Linked DNA regions of Homo sapiens: regions 2 and 3 are each linked to region 1. The links are contacts of gene promoters, found by promoter capture Hi-C in blood cells and fetal thymus (Javierre and others, 2016). All regions are on one chromosome and are shown on one strand. The core of a region is centred on a gene start or on the middle of the fragment in contact, and the rest is flanking DNA. Distances in the headings are between cores, read along the strand shown. Region 1 overlaps PKHD1L1 (PKHD1 like 1). Region 2 holds the start of PLEKHF2 (pleckstrin homology and FYVE domain containing 2). Region 3 holds the start of MTDH (metadherin).

Region 1 (2,920 bases), core at 215-2,714:
AGAGGGGAAGGATTGTAAGTGTCATAGTTCTGACAGCTGCTCTTTCATCCTATGCCTTTAAAACAAAGGGAACAAAGAAGGGAACAAAGAAGGTAGAAGCGGGGGTATGGAGGGTTGACTTCTGGCTGTCCCTCCCTGTTTCCCTTTGTTAATATATTGCTAGTAGACATGTCTACTTCTGGTTGCTGATGACATAAAATTCACCTCTATTTCTTGGAAGCACTATTCCATGTTGTGAGCTAAAGGGGATTGTACTGATCTTGAAGATAACAAATCTGCCTGCTTCAAAGGTTTCACCGATTTTATTGCTGTGTTTCCAACACATTTCCACATATGGTATGATATTTAATTTGCAAAATAAATCCGTAAAGCAGGAATTACTAACCTAATTTTGCAGATGAGAAAACTGAGGCTTAAAGTTGTTCAAGGTCAAAGTCACGATGTCCATCATGCTGTAGCTCAATGAATGAGTCTCACATTGTTTCATGTTGTTTTATTTCTACTTTCTCAATCCATGTACAAGATAGATTTACAAACTACTGTTTTATGTTGGTTGTATGAATTTCAATACATTTACTGTTAGAAATAACAAAAGGTCTTAGACTGCCAGATGCTGTTCCCATCAACTCTACTTAATTCATAATATAGCTGAACTCTGTCATAAATCTAATAACGATGTGGACATTAGCCAGAAGTATGATGTGGCTGAACCTCACCACTGAACACAAAATGAGAATTCACCTCATCTTTTCATTTGAATTTATTTCTACTAAAATATATGTATTATTTTTCTTGATTTCTAACCAGGCCCCTTCTGAAGAAAACTGGTTAACTCTAAATTGTTACTAAATTTTGAATCTTCCTGTATTTAGCAATAAAAGTTACTGCTAATTGTAATAACAATTATGAGGAAAAATTTATTTAAATGCTTCATAGAAAGTTAATTTTCATTTAATAGAAAAGAAATAAAAAATCTGCTTCAGACTGTTTGATTTCTCTATTAGGCAATTGACCCTAACTAGTATATGGTGATTTTGAGTATTAAAAAAGAAGTTATAATTTTCCAGAATATTAATGTTTATTATTTTGAAAGCAAGTAAAATTCTCCAGTAGGAAGATTAATAAAACAATTCATTAAAATTCTCATCAGAAAATCCTATGCTTTCAAATGTATCTGCTCAAAGATGTCACTCTATGTGCGGCAAAGCTTTGTTTTACTTGATCAAGAAATGAATGTGACTTTATGATCTTGTATTCAACTGTGAACAGCTGCTCATTAATAAAAAGCCATTAAAGTCCAAGTCAGAACAGCAGGTCTAAAATTGTGTTTGAGGGAAAAAAAACCCACCCTTTGATGAAAAGCCAGGGAACTGGGTTGGGAAAGATCTGGAAGCAGAGGGCTGTGTTTGCAGTCTGCTCCTACCTCCTGGGCCAGGTCAGGTGACAAGGCCAGAGTTAGCCCCAGCTGGAGAAGTCAGAACAAAGCCTATGTAGGCTTTGAAAGGGGAGAGTAAGTGGTGGGCTGGAGGTTGATAGTGTGAATAAATCAAGCTGGTAATTGGGCAGAGGCTGATCAGAAGCGTTAAAGTGAGCAAAATGGTTTGGACACAGAGCAGACAGAATTTACTATATTCCATTGAGTAAAAGAAATTCATATGCCAGGTTCTATCCCTTATGTTCCTCCCATTTGACATCTGGTGGTTTCCTACCCCCGTCCCACACAAGCTTTGGGGAGAGGACAGGACTTAAAGTTCCCTGTTCCCAAGAGGTGGTCCCTAAACCCAATCCCAAATTATTGACTTGTGATCCCAATTATGGGCTTACTATTTAACAAGTAAAGATGATTTTAAAATATTATTTTATAGGTATTACTAAAGTAAATTTTAAATTTGCAGTCTTTAGCGAGCTTTGTTTTCTGTTTTGCTATTGTGTTGGGAAACAAGTACTCAGTAACTAGCTGTTTCTGGAAAAGTATATACATTTCGTTTTGTTTCATTTGGAAATGGCAAATTTAATAAAGAAAACTGAAGAATCAGGAAAAAGAAGAAAATATCCTTGGGCATAATAAATTGTCTAAAGCAATCAACTCTTTAAGAAAAAAAATTTAAACACGTTTATATCCGAATATAGGTTATTTTGGATTTTTTTTTTTTTTTTTTTTGAGTCAGGGTCCTGCTCTGTCTCCCAGGCTGGAGTGCAGGGCCCAATCATGGCTCACTGTAGTCTCGACCTCCCAGGCTCAGGTGATTCTTCCCACCTCAGCCTTCTGAGTAGCTGGGACTACAGGCATGCGCCACCAAACCTGGCTAATTTTTAAATTATTTGTAGAAACGGAGTTTCGCCCGTTGCCTGGGCTGGTCTTAAATTCCTGGGCTCAAGCGTTCCTCCTGCCTCGGCCTCCCAAAGTGCTGAGATTACAGGCATGAGTTACCGTGCCCAGCTAGATAACTCGATTTTTTAAATCCAAAAAAAATTTAGAAATTTTATATTGAAATTTAGGCATTAGAATTCTAGAGATTAAAGTTAGAGCAGGTGTTTAAGGGACTGAAAGGGGTTGCATGGCCTTTGGGAAATGCAATTACCGGAAATGATACTGTAGTAATGCAATAGTAATGCAGTAGTAGTAGTAGCTGCAGCAACAACTGTTATCTATGAATGTTTGCTATGTGCCAGGCTCTGTGCTAAGAGAGCTTTGCAAGCATTACTACTGCATGAAGTAGGCACTATTATGGCCATTTTACTGATGAGGAAATTGAGGTGAACAGATTAAATAATTTTACCCAACTTTACACAGAACCATTCCAGAGCACGAGCCATAAACACATCTTTCCCGTCTTGGAAATTAAATTATTAATAAAAAACGTGGTGCAAATTGGAAAGAGGACGGTTGTGGTAGATTATCACAAAGTTAAGTGGGTAG
Region 2 (2,920 bases), core at 203-2,702, about 14 Mb before region 1:
CACTTTACTTAAGCTAAATAAGTACATGGGAAGTGAGGAGGGCAAACATTTTTACTAATGTGAGTGACCAAAAATATTTGATAACTAATGCTCTAGGCTTGACCTTAGACAACCAGTCAGACATAGCAATTCCTACTTTCAAAATTTAAAAGGATTTTAGGCATTATTTAGTCCTGCCTTTTCCCCACTGATAGATATTGCTGTGCACGTAGAGGTGAATGAGGTAGAGTGATGGTACGGACAAGCGTCCTGGTGACATCTGTACTCATCTAGAGACAACTCTAACACACGAAAGATTGTGTGTGTGTGATCATACAATTTTCCCCATTTAAAAAAAGTTCATCTTTGCCAATTTTGTTCTAATTATTAATTTAAAAAAAGACTTGTTTGTTTCAGAGACAAACTCTATTGAAATAGGGGAGGATAGGAGGCAACAAGCCTGGAGGAGGAAGATCCCAGGTGGAAGAGCAGGGCGGAACCCAAGTCTGCTCTCATCCCTAGGTGCTCATCCACGTGCAGCTTGGCTGGTAGTGACTCTAATTCAACAGCAATCAAACACAGGTTAAAACAACTTACTGAAGTAATAGATGAATAAGAAATATAAAATTTACCAAAACCCAATTTCCTCCTACACACCACACACACTTTGTTTAAAATAAGTATGCTGTTCTCCCTACTTCGCCCCCATCCCTAGTCTACCCTAAGCAACTTCGTTACCTCTCTACGAACCCATCAGAGCGCTTAGCTATCAGATCAATTAGGGCACATTTAACCTTATATACTATGCAATAATTACAGTTTCTAGGTATGTGAAGTAGGCTGATGGGGTTTTGTGTCGTCAAAGTTTTGGGAAGACCAGAATTCTAAAGTATGCATTTAAAAGAAAGGGCTGGGTGGAGCACGTAGGGTATGTGTGTGTCGCCGCAGTTCCCTTGGTTTCAAGAGGAGGGATTTTAGGTAAAGCAAAGGGAAAGTGTGACGGAAAGGATTGCTGTGCTAAATGGGAGCAGCAAATGCCAGTACCGATGCCTTTGGGCATTTAGATCCAAAGCCTGCCTTTCTCGTTCTTCAGTTCCCCGGGGAGGCCTGTTGTGGGTGGGGAGGTGTCTTCCTTCTATTATTCCAGTCTCCCTAAGAACTTCGTAGACAGTTGAGCAATACTTTCTAAGGGCTGGTCGGAGTCAGGAAAGTCAGGTAAGGCGCCTCACGTGCACCTCAACGCGTCGCGGGAGCGCGTCCCGACCTCACACATGGACAAGCTCCGCCCGCGGCCGGCCTGAGTGGGTGTGGCCTCCGCCAAAGGCCCCGCCCCTAGAGCGCGTCGCGAGGGGCGCGAGGGGCGGGGCGAGGGAACTGGCAAGAAAGGGCGGGGAGCGAGGGGTGTGGGTGTGCTCGTGCCCGCGCGCTCGCGCCCGGAGTGTGGACGGGGGCGCGCCCGTGCGCGCGCAGGGGAGAGGCCAGCCCAGGCAGCCGTTGTCGGGTTCGACTGGAGGGGCGGGGGAGTCACCTGCGAGCGGCTGCGCTGGCGGCCAGCCCGCCCACCGCGTCTGGATCGCGCCGGCTGCGCGGGGCTGCGGACAGCACACACCCTGGAAGGCCCCGGCGGGGAACGGGCAGAGTCCGCGCCCTGCGTCCGCGACCAGGAGGATCGGACCTTCGCCTTCGCTGTCGCCGCCGCCGCCGCCCGCGGCCGTCGGGGTAGGTGAAGCCCGGGTGGGTGGTCCGCCGGCTCCTGACGGGCCGGGAGGGGAGACGCGAAACTTTCCGGGCGCTTCCTCCCGCGGTCCCGGAGCCGTCGCAGCGCCGGGAGGTGTCGTCGTCGCGGGCGGTGGCGGCCGACGCCATGTTGGGGTCTGTGAGAAACGGGGCGCTCCCGGCCGCTCCCCTCGCGCCGGGGCCGGCCCGCGGGCCAGTTGCCGCCGCCGTCCCGCCAGCCCGGGAGCGAGCCGCGCCCGCCCGTAGGACGCCGCCGCCGCCGCGGGGGGACGGGGGCCGCCGGGTAGGGTCCGGTCCACGGGTCTGCGGGGCGGGGGCCGGCGGACGCGGGAAGGAGCCCCGAGGCCGGGCGAGAAGTTGTGGGGCCTGAGGACGGGGGTCCTGGACACGGCCGGGGGCGTCTCAGGGTCGCGACAAATTTCTGGCCGAAAAGTTTGCAGGGTCTGCGTGTCGGGGACCTTATGACCTGAACTACATATTTGTATGTCACTTGGGAGACGAAAATGGCCCCGCAGAACTTGCTCTGATAGAAGCGATGGTTTATTTATTTGGAGCCTTTTCAAGTTTTATGATCCTTTGACGAATTTATTTTTCTTTTTAAAAATGTGATTGAAGGCCGAGAGCGCGCTGCCGGTGTTGCTTGAATAGCCTTGTGTGCTCTCCGTACATTCCAGCAATAACTTGAGTGTGCGGTGGAAGTGGGTATGAAGGTTACAGACACCTAAGCCCTCCTCGGTAATTCATAGACTCACAAAACGCGTTGTTGATAAATGCCTTCTTTGTCGTGTTGTGTAGTACGTTGCTGAAGAGACTCATTAAAGAAAGATTTAGACAGAAACTTTGAGAGTCTTAAAGGCATGTGTTCTCTTAAGAATAAGAAGTGATCTTGACAGTTTGAAGTTTTTTTCCCCTCCCTTTAGTTTCTTAAGGGTGAATGCCTACCGCGTTTTGAGCATTTACTTTTTTTAAATACTCTGGCAGCTCGTGGGGTCTTCACGTTAATTCAGTATTAACGAAGGCTTCATTATAATCTCTTTGGGTCCCGACCACACGGGGAATGAATGGTATTAAGCTATTTATTTGGAAAGCACACGTAATCGGCCTCTAAATAAAACTAGTATAGTGACTAAGCTTCAGAAGAAAATATTCAGCCTCAGTAAATGAATCTAAATGATTTTTAAATAAAGACATCTTGCTTTAAAAT
Region 3 (2,920 bases), core at 186-2,685, about 12 Mb before region 1:
CTTCCACACATGAATCACAATATGCATTACGACACTGTTGCAAAATAGGTCAAAATACATTTTTGGTATTTGGTGGTTATTAATATTACCCCTGCTGTATTCCTTGAGAAAGCCTGTATTTAGTTCACTTAAGACAGTTGCTTACACGCTAATGATCATTTACCGATAAAATACAGAGTTTCCTTATAGCAAAATATAATCTTAAAACCCTAAGGCAGCCTTCAAGCATTTCCCTTATAATTAAAACCTGAAGGCCTGGCGTGGTGGCTCACGCCTGTAATCCCAGCACTTTGGGAGGCTGAGGTGGGCGGATCACGAGGTCAGGAGATCAAGACCATCCTGGCTAACACGGTGAAACCCCGTCTCTACTAAAAATACAAAAAATTAGCCGGGCGTGGTGGTGGGTGCCTATAGTCCCAGCTGCTCGGGAGGCTGAGGCAGGAGAATGGCTTGAACCCAGGAGGCGGACCTTGCAGTGAGCGGAGATAGTGCCACTGCACTCCAGCCCGGGCGACAGAGCGAGACTCTTGTCTCAAAAAAAAAAAATTTGAAAAGGCAGTTCGTTTCCTTCTATAGCTGCATCCCAGAGATGGTCAACATAGCATATAAAAATGGAATTTTTGCAAACCCCTTTTGCAGTGTTGTAGAAAAGCTTAAAATAAAACGTAACGAGAAAGCTCCCTCCATAAGTAAATACAATCTAATGTGCTTCCCCTTATGTGTTATTAAAGCTACAAATTAGTAGGAAAAGAATAGTGCCGCCCACGGGCTTTCCAACTTTTGAATTCTGGGGACTAACAACAGAGAGCAAGAGTGAATGAGCCAAACGACGCAAACGTGCCCTCGCCAGGCTGGCAACTGGTAGGCACGCAGTGTATTAGTTGCCCTGGAGAGAAACACCCTGGAGAGAAATACCCAATTTGTGAACTAAACCTAGGTCCCGGAAGAACAGTGTTCGGCGTCAGACTCCGTTGAGCTCATTCTGGAAGGATCCAACTGGCGCCACCAGGGAGAAAAAGCGATTCCACCTCAATAACACTCCAGAAAAAGGCATGAAGAGCCCTATACCTGCCAGGGCGACTTTGACCTAGACCCGGTGACCCGGTTCCTAGCGCTGCAGCCCTACCCGCCCCCCGCCCGCCCCCGCCTTGCACGGAGCCCCTCCTCTGTACTCATTCGTTGCGCCACGTCTCCTAACTCTGCGCCACCAGCCACCCCGCGAAGGCGTCCACCAATTAACCCCTCCCAGCTTCTGGTCTACAGTAACGGGTCCCCAACGCCGCGTCTTAACCAGGCCCGAACCGACCACCGCCAACCTTCCCTGACACGCCTTTGCCCCACCCGACCCCGCCCGCCCCCACGTGACGCCCACGCCCCGCCCACTGGCGCCCACGTGACCCACGGTCGTCCCCGCGCGCGGCGTGGATCGCGGCCCAAGCCGCCATTGTTCCGCCGAGGGAGGACAGCGGGGCCTGGCGCTGGCGCCGAGACGCCGCTTAGCGGCCGCCACTGGAGACACTCCCTCCCGCCTCCCGGGTCTCCTGGCGGCGGCGGAGTGAGGCTGACAGCGGGGAACCTGGGAGACCCCTCCGCCCTCCCCGCGGTGGCAGCGGCCGATCCCCGGCTCCGGCGCGAGGGACGGCCGCGATGCGCTCGGCCTGAGGTTACCCGGCCCGGCCCTTCCTCGCTTCCCTCGACTATTCCACTGCGTCTCCGCGCCCCGGCGTCATCCTGCGAGTCCCTCTGACGGGAGGGAAGATGGCTGCACGGAGCTGGCAGGACGAGCTGGCCCAGCAGGCCGAGGAGGGCTCGGCCCGGCTGCGGGAAATGCTCTCGGTCGGCCTAGGCTTTCTGCGCACCGAGCTGGGCCTCGACCTGGGGCTGGAGCCGAAACGGTACCCCGGCTGGGTGATCCTGGTGGGCACTGGCGCGCTCGGGCTGCTGCTGCTGTTTCTGCTGGGCTACGGCTGGGCCGCGGCTTGCGCCGGCGCCCGCAAAAAGCGGAGGAGCCCGCCCCGCAAGCGGGAGGAGGCGGCGGCCGTGCCGGCCGCGGCCCCCGACGACCTGGCCTTGCTGAAGAATCTCCGGAGCGAGGAACAGAAGAAGAAGAACCGGAAGAAACTGTCCGAGAAGCCCAAAGTGAGTATGGGATGAGCGGCAGTAGAGAACGGGCGAAGGGCGGGCGTGGAGACCCTCGAGCTTGGGGGAGGCCGCGCCCCAGCCGGGAAGGAAAAGAGTGCTTAGTCGAAAGCCGAGAGGCAGCACTCCCAAGTGGAGGAGGAGGTGATAGGTGGTCATGTTATTTGGGGAATGGGGGGAACTCAGGAAGTATAGGACGAGTGGGGAAGCCCAGTTTCGAGGAAGGAAGTTAGGAGGTCTGGGGGTCCGTTCAGATAGGCGCCCAGAGGTCAAGCCATCTTTGGGAACCGTCACCGCTAGAATAAGCACAGCATCCTTCCTTGAGGCCTGCAGAGTAGGCTGCATGTGGAGCGTAATGGGACCTTAAGGTGGTGTTAGGAAGTTGTATAAAGACTGCGCTCGGAAGACAGATGTCTATCTCAAGTCACATTGAGACAGTAGGCAGTGGAAGAAGTGCGGTGACCTAGAAATTCTGGGGCTTACACAGGATTAAAGGTGTCCAGGTCTAGACGCGCTTCCATTTTAGTTGGGACTGTTAAAGGGAAATGGTTGCCCATTCTTGTTCTGGCAAATGTGGCCAACAGAGGCCGGAACGGGAGCAAGGCAAGAGGGGGTCGGTTACCTAATACGCTTTGAGGTGTATGGTCCTGTGAGAAAGAGCTAAGGCGAGTTCAACGAACGAGTCTGTTGCACACTCTGTGGCGTGGTAGATTTGTGAAATAGAGTAAAGGGAGATGACAGGGCAGAATGGTGAAAGCCGAGAGAGGAATTCAGGCACCGA

The links. The method cuts DNA at HindIII sites, captures the fragments that hold promoters and counts their contacts. A CHiCAGO score of 5 or more calls a contact.
Region 2: the fragment with the promoter of PLEKHF2 here is called in contact with a fragment that was not itself captured in region 1 in 1 of 17 cell types (non-activated CD4 T cells); the score reaches 6.6 in non-activated CD4 T cells.
Region 3: a contact is called between the fragment with the promoter of MTDH here and a fragment that was not itself captured in region 1, in 2 of 17 cell types (fetal thymus and naive CD8 T cells). The highest score is 6.6, in fetal thymus.

What each region holds. Positions count from the first base shown.
Region 1 is chr8:109,535,907-109,538,826 of GRCh38, forward strand. It overlaps PKHD1L1 (PKHD1 like 1), which reads left to right. Exons shown (of 78, transcript NM_177531.6): 78 at 1-1,301. Among named protein-coding and RNA genes, the nearest start is that of EBAG9UORF, 2.4 kb to the right of the region's middle. The HindIII fragment of the contact is 518 bases long and covers 1,206-1,723 here.
Region 2 is chr8:95,132,333-95,135,252 of GRCh38, forward strand. It overlaps PLEKHF2 (pleckstrin homology and FYVE domain containing 2), which reads left to right and starts at 1,453. Exons shown (of 2, transcript NM_024613.4): 1 at 1,453-1,698. RefSeq lists silencers at 1,195-1,834, 1,855-2,014. The HindIII fragment of the contact is 9,547 bases long and covers 1-2,845 here.
Region 3 is chr8:97,642,749-97,645,668 of GRCh38, forward strand. It overlaps MTDH (metadherin), which reads left to right and starts at 1,436. Exons shown (of 12, transcript NM_178812.4): 1 at 1,436-2,139. The coding sequence starts at 1,759. RefSeq lists silencers at 1,024-1,133, 1,314-1,773, 2,044-2,113, 2,397-2,565 and enhancers at 1,286-2,266, 2,267-2,920. The HindIII fragment of the contact is 3,502 bases long and covers 651-2,920 here.